Linked DNA regions of Homo sapiens: region 1 is linked to region 2. Evidence: promoter capture Hi-C in human tissues and cell types (Jung and others, 2019). All regions are on one chromosome and are shown on one strand. Each heading gives the region's core, a stretch centred on a gene start or on the middle of the fragment in contact. The rest is flanking DNA. Distances are from core to core; before and after follow the strand shown.

Region 1 (3,476 bases), core at 359-2,858, 470 kb before region 2:
AGTGCTCTCATCTATGACCCTGGAAGGATACTCTTGTGAAGAGGTTTGAATTCACTTGATTTATGGACATCATGTGCATATCATCTGGAAGGATGACATGTTGCTCCTACATATGAGCTTAATTTGGTGAAAGGGCTAGTGCTTCAGTGTGATCAAATCAAAAGTGGAGGCTGCAGCTGGGTGTGGTGGCTCATGCCTGTAATCCCAGCATGTTGGGAGGCTGAGGCAAAAGGATCGCTTGAGCCCAGGAGTTCAAGACTAGCCTGGGCAACATAAAGACACCCCTATCTCTACCAAAAAAAAAAAAATTAAAAAAAAATTGCTCTGCCTGGTGGCTTGTGCCTGTAGTCCCAGCTACTCTGGAGGATTGCTTGAGCCCGGAAGGTTGAAACTTCAGTGAGCTGTGATCACACCACTGCACTCCAGTCTGGGTGATAGAGTGAGACCCTGTCTCAAAAAAACAAATAAAGCAGAGACTGGATAAGATGTTTGTTTGCTTTAAATTCTACCTAAACAATATCCTCAAAAGTTGGAATTTCTTCTTTCTCTTCTTCTTTCGAGGGCAGAAAATTATGTTTTATTCATCGCTATATTCCTAAAACTTTCTTAACACATTACTGACACAAAATAGGTACTGCACATGGCCAGGTGCAGTGGCTCATGCCTGTAATCTCAGCACTTTGGGAGGCCGAGGCGGGCAGATGACCTGAGGTCAGGAGTTCGAGACCAGCCTGGCCAACATGGTGAAACCCTGTCTCTACTAAAATACAAAACTTAGCCAGGCGTGGTGGCTCATGCCTGTAATCCCAGCTACTTGGGAGGCTGAGGCATGAGAATCACTTGAACCTGGGAGGTGGAGGTTGCAGTGAGCCAAGATTGCACCACTGCACTCCAGTGGGTGACAAAGCAAGACTCCATCTCAAAAAAAAAAAAAAGTATTGCACTAATAAATACTTAATTTGAATAAGATTGAGGTTCCTGCTCTACTTATCACATCGAAGAAATAAGCGTGAATCACAGGTAGAATGAGTCTGGAAATGTATAGGGTGAGGGGAATGCTGGTGTCATTCTCCTTGCTCTTGAACCCTCTGCAAGCAAGTCGAAAAGACATCAGGAGTCATCCTACTCTCAGAAGCTGAAATTTCATTTTAGTAAAAGCTTAAGGTTAGGATCCTAGAAGCAGACCCAGATCCTTGTGTATTTGACTTATTGCAGGAGGGTTCTTGGAAGAAACCTGTAAGGCAGTGAAGGAAGCAGGGTAGGGACAGGGAAGAGGTTAGGTAGAGTAGTGAGTTATCTAAACTTCTGCCTGATCCCATGGGGAGCTCTGGAGTGTGAATTACACGTCAGAGTTGACTCACATAAGAGTCTATGAACCAAATCAGTTAGTCGTTGACTGAGGGCCAAGATAACATTTCCAAGGGCAATTATCTGGAGAAGGGGACAATTATGAGTGGTTAGCAGTCAGCACCATAGCAGCTGGTGATGTAGTTCACCTGCCAAGTAAAGGGGGTCCAATCAGGGCACCAACAGCATCCACTACAATGCATTTTATTCTGGCACTTTTTTCATGGACTGTCATAAACAACTAAACACTTTTAGAGATAATGGTTCAAGAACAAATAACAAATTTGTTCAAGAACAAAGGTGGGTTTTTGTTTTTGTTTCTGTTTTTTGAGTTAGAGTCTCACTCACTCTGTCGCTCAGGCTGGAGTACAGTGGCACAATCTCGGCTCATGGCAACCTCCGCCTCCCAGGCTCAAAAAATTCTCCTGCCTCAGCCTCCTGAGTAGCTGGGATTACAGACATGCACCACCACACCCGGCTAATTTTTGTATTTTTTGTAGAGACAGGATTTCGCCATGTTGGCCAGGCTGGTCTCAAACTCCCGAACTCAAGTAATCCACCTGCCTCAGCCTCCCAAAGTGCTGGGATTACGGGCATGAACCACTGCACCCAACCAAGAACAAAGGCGTTTTTAAGTCTACTGTGAGTTATCTGCTTGCTTTATCTCAAATGAAAATTTTCTTATTATAAATTGTGATAACTAAAAGGATATTAGCCTTAACACCATTTCAAAAACACAAAGCCATTTTTTCTAAAATTTCTTCATAACCCTAGAAAATTAAAGATCTTCACATTTTCCATCTCATAAAATAGTTTTATTTTTAAACTCTTAAATGACACCAGTAAATTTGCCTTTGAAAGATTTTTTATTTGCAAGTCTTGCATTTGTCATATTACCCAGAAATACCTGTACAGGTACTACATGCTGGGGATTCTGCTAGGCTCTAGGTAGACAATGATGAACAAGACAGTCACTCTTCTAAGAGTTTACAGTTTTGAGGATAGTCAAACAATGAAAAGAAACCAACAGTGTGCTATGCTGAGAGACTATAGAGTTCCAACGGGTACATCTAGGAAGAGCACCTAACCCAGGCTTGGGGACACAGAGACATTTTCACAGAAGAGGTGGAATTTAAGTCAAGTAATCAGAATGGTTGGGTCCATGGCATGAGTCTCCCTATTCACACACCACTGCATGTTACAGCTCTCACTGGGCAAGCCAGTCAACTCTTCAAAGGGCAGGGTTCAGGCCCTTCTTCTCACATCTTCATTTCAGGGTGAGCAGCAGTAGCAGAAGCTTTTTACAGAAAGCAATAAACTTGGTGAAAGGAAAAATTTTGTAAAATAACTGCATTTTGTAGGGTAAATTAATGGGCAAATTCTAGCTTTGTCATTCAGCTTAACTATAATCAAAGCTCATTGAATGGTCTTCAACTATTAACAGCTAAAAAAGTACTTGCACGTCCCAAAACCTTTCTATATCTATAAATTTTCCATTTTACACCAAGGAGCTAATCTAAGATGTGTGTTTAGAGATTAAGCATCCTCATATAAAGCAGAACATGTGGCCAGGTGCAGTGGCTCATGGCTGTAATCCTAGCACTTTGGGAGGCCAAGGAGGGTGGATCACTGGAGGTCGGGGGTTCCGGACCAGCCTGAACAACATGGCGAAACCCCATCTCTACTAAAAATACAAAAACTAGCTGGGTGCGGTACGTTACGCCTGTAAGCCCAGATACTCAAGTGGCTGAGGCAGGAGAATCGCTTGAACCCAGGAGGTGGAGGTTGTAGTGAGCCAAGATCGCACCACTGCACTCCAGCCTGGGCAACAGAGTGAGACTCTGTCTCAAAAACAAACAAACAAACAAACAAACAAACAAACAGCAGAACACTTAATTAAGCAATGTACAATGAATATTAGGAAATAGAAGGTTAAACAATAAGCATAATATGTGAATTCACTTAGGCTGACTTTTTTAAAAAATGCATGAAATTAGTCACCCACAGACAGGGATTTTTTTAAATAACATGAATAGCTCTAGGCATTTTTCCTTTTTAATATTCCTACCTCAAAATATTAATATGCACCCATAGTCCACATTAAAAATAATTCTTGCTATAAAAACTTG
Region 2 (3,396 bases), core at 70-2,569:
AGGGTTCTAGTTGACACTGCTTCTAGTTGTAGGGAATGTTTCCCATTTAATAGAGCAACTACAATGGTTGATTCCCTTCAATAATAACTTCTTATCAGGCAACCACTGTCACATTCAGGATTTCATTCCACCGAATTCCTATGCATTCAAATGTAAAAGAGGCTAGTGAAGAAGTAGGTCACATGAACCAATCTTTCCACCACCAACGAAAGCACTGCCCAGACTCCTGGGATGCCCTACTCTGGTATTTTCGTATCATTTTACCCAAGAATTGAAAAAAATGTCTGCTCAGATCCTTTGAATTCAACACCTTACCCACCACTTTCTTTCACTTCAAGCAAGGTCTGATTTGCACTAACTAGTAGGAGGTCACCATCTCTTAAGTGATTCCTCCCAGACTATTTTAGCTCTCAGGGACAGCCAGGGCCCTCAACGATTCCCTAAGCATCTCTGGGAAAGTTTACACATTACGCTGTTACAAGCAATTCATGTATGTGTGCATAGTGAAAACCTTTTCTCTTAAAACTCTTAATACTGAAGTTCCCCAAACCTTTGGAAAATGTACAAGTCACAGATGCTCCTGTGACTTGTTTTTCCCTTCGGGTGCGTCCTCAACCTTGCTTAAATAAACCTCTATTGAACGAGACCTGCATCAGTCACTTTTCGGTTAACACTAGGTATTCAACGAATAGACTAGTCCCGCCGTTGTCTCCAGATATGATGGTGCCCTGACCCAAAGAAGCGAGATACTCCTTCCCAGGGCCTCGCTCCCGAGCATGGGTTATTTGCACAAAACCCCGCAGGAAGCTTTTAGAGCCACAGTCGGCTAGGCTGGAGTCAGACTCTGTTACCTCCTGACTCTGCCATCACGAGCAAGGAGCCTGCTTCCTCATTGGCAAAAGGGAATGACCAAGGCACCACCTTACAGGGTTGTGGCAACGGGCTCATGGAATTATACATGCCAAGTGGTTATCACAGGGCCCGCCACTGGCGGAAGGTGAGACAATGTGGACGGCGAGGAAATGGGAGCATCGGCTGGAAACCAGGGACGGAGATCGGGGATGGGGGGCGGGCAAGGGGACAGCGGAAAGGGTGGGCGAGGGATCCGTGTCCCAACCCGCCGAGTCGCAGCTCTGCCCCTGCGAGCTTCCGCCGAGACCGCCCCCCGGGAAGCCGCGTTTCCTTCCTGCAGTCGCGGTCCGGCGTGGGGCACGGAGGGGCTCGCGCTCCCAGAAGCCGGCAGGCCTTCCCGCGGGCGGGCCCGCAGCGCGCTCCGCCCCGGAAACACGCCCATGGCCGCCTTGGCGCGCTTTCAAACGCTCAGGTTTCCTACCTTCCGGCTGCTTGGGAACTTCTTTCTTGCCCGCCAAGCCCGCAGCCACCCGGGCGCGGCGGGACTCCTAGACCCGGCGCTGCGATGAAGAGGACCCGCGACGAGGTGGATGCGACGCTGCAGATCGCCAAGCTGAATGCGGCCGAGCTGCTGCCGGCGGTGCACTGCCTGGGCTTCGGCCCTGGGGCCAGCGGCGCTGCAGCCGGCGACTTCTGCCTGCTGGAGCTGGAGCCCACGCTGTGCCAGCAGCTGGAGGATGGACACAGGTGAGCCCTGGTCACGCGGCGCCCCCAGCCTCTGGCCGGCCACGTTATTTTCTCAGCGGGGAAAGTCGGGATAAGAAAACAGGGCCAGAGAGATGCACTGACCTGGCCGGGGGCTCATAGCAAGCTGCCTGTTCCCGAGGAGTCCACGCCTCCGGTGGGCCGTCCAGTTAGCTGCACTGCGGTGATGAGTAGCACTGGTCCAGCTGACCTTGGAGGCATGTGTCAGCGGGAGCAAGTCAGGAAATACTAATACAACCTCCGTGAAGTTTTTGAAGAGTTACCGGTGATTACAGGGACTCTACAGGACACCTGTCACTCTACCTTAAAATACAGTGGTGATACCCAATGTTTATAGAACTCTTGCCTTCCACTTATATTTATTTTACTCAGATGATAGATAGGAAGTGCTGGGAATCAGCTTACAGACTTGGTAATTGGGTGAGACCCCTACCCACCCCGAAGCAAACTTGCTTAGTAGGGATCTGAAGCTGTTTCTAATTCCAGGTCAGATACAAACTTGCTGCAAGATCATTGATTAGAAGTCGAAGTTGAGGTAGTTTTTTAAAGGCAGTCTTGAGAAGTCTAGAGAATCGTTATATCCCTCCACCCTGTGCAGCCCCAGCTCCTGCAAAATAGGGAGCTCCAGCTTGATTCTCTTTTGCACAATTGGTCCTCCGACACCTATATTTTATTAGGCTATTTTTTCTCTTTTTTCTTAATGGAATCCTTTAGGCTGTCTTTCAGTTTTCGTACTTTGCCCACCAAAGAGTGTTAGAGTAAACTGGCCATTCTTCAGATACCTGCTATATACCTCAAAGTACCTTTAAGGGAACTGAAAGAACTTCACTAGTCTGTTTCCATCCCGGTTCAGTTGGTGGAGAGTTGAGAAAGGAACTCAGGTGTGAGGACTTTCTCTCGGTCCAGTTCTAGTTAATCTAGCTGGCAAAAACAAAACAAAACAAAAACAAAAAAATAAAAACAGGCCCTGGAAACGTGTGTTTTTAATTTTGGGGTGTAGGGAGTGATGGTATAAACAAAATATTTCAAAGTGGGGGTAGTGCAGTTAGAGAAATAAATGTTAAAGACTAGGTACTTGGGCCTATTAAGCATTATTAGCATTAGGAATCTAAAAAACCTTTTATTCTTTTTACTTAAATGAAGACTTAGTCAAAAATAAATACACAGTCTGCTATTTCAGGTTTCTTATTATTTATTCAAAAGAAACGAGTTGTGCACAGGAGAATTAAATGCTTTACAGACAAGGAAAACTGCTAGAACCAACTCCCCTGTCATTGCCATCATCTTTGTCTTTAATCCTTCCTTTTCCTCCGCTTCACCTTCATCCTTTCCTCTTCCTTCTTTTTTCTTTATCTTTTTTTTGGGGAGAGAGTGGTGGGAACAGGGTCTCACTCTGTCAGCCAGGCTGGAGTGCAGTGGCACAATCACGGCTCTCTGCATGATGGTGCCATGACTACTTGGGGTCAGGCGATCCTCCCACCAGCCTCCTGAGTAGCTGAGACTTAAGGTGTGCATCATCACACCCAGCTAACTTTTAAATTTTTCTTTTGTAGTGATGGGGTCTTGCTATGTTTCTCAGGCTGGTCTCAAACTCCTGCTCTCGAGCGATCTTCTGGCCTCAGCCTCCTAAAGTGCTAGGATTACAGGCATGAGCCACTGCGTTCTTGCTTTTCTTCAAAATCCCTTTGTCAAAGTCTTTGGTTTAGTACAGTTTTTAAACATATCCTTTTCATATTTTTCATTCACCACTGCATCCTTTTTTTCATAAGGTCCCAATTT

The links. The method cuts DNA at HindIII sites, captures the fragments that hold promoters and counts their contacts. A contact is called where the count stands out against the background at its distance.
Region 1: a fragment that was not itself captured here is called in contact with the fragment with the promoter of DSCC1 in region 2 in 2 of the 25 tissues and cell types used here (H1 embryonic stem cells and mesendoderm cells).

What each region holds. Positions count from the first base shown.
Region 1 is chr8:120,325,230-120,328,705 of GRCh38, reverse strand. The region is part of intron 40 of COL14A1 (collagen type XIV alpha 1 chain); the gene reads right to left. Among named protein-coding and RNA genes, the nearest start is that of MRPL13, 120 kb to the left of the region's middle. The HindIII fragment of the contact is 6,229 bases long and covers 1-3,476 here.
Region 2 is chr8:119,853,817-119,857,212 of GRCh38, reverse strand. It overlaps DSCC1 (DNA replication and sister chromatid cohesion 1), which reads left to right and starts at 1,319. Exons shown (of 9, transcript NM_024094.3): 1 at 1,319-1,599. The coding sequence starts at 1,418. LOC105375728 (a long non-coding RNA gene) reads right to left here. Exons shown (of 4, transcript XR_928590.3): 2 at 2,411-2,538; 3 at 1,334-1,807. RefSeq lists a silencer at 1,168-1,227 and an enhancer at 1,338-1,647. The HindIII fragment of the contact is 8,457 bases long and covers 1-3,396 here.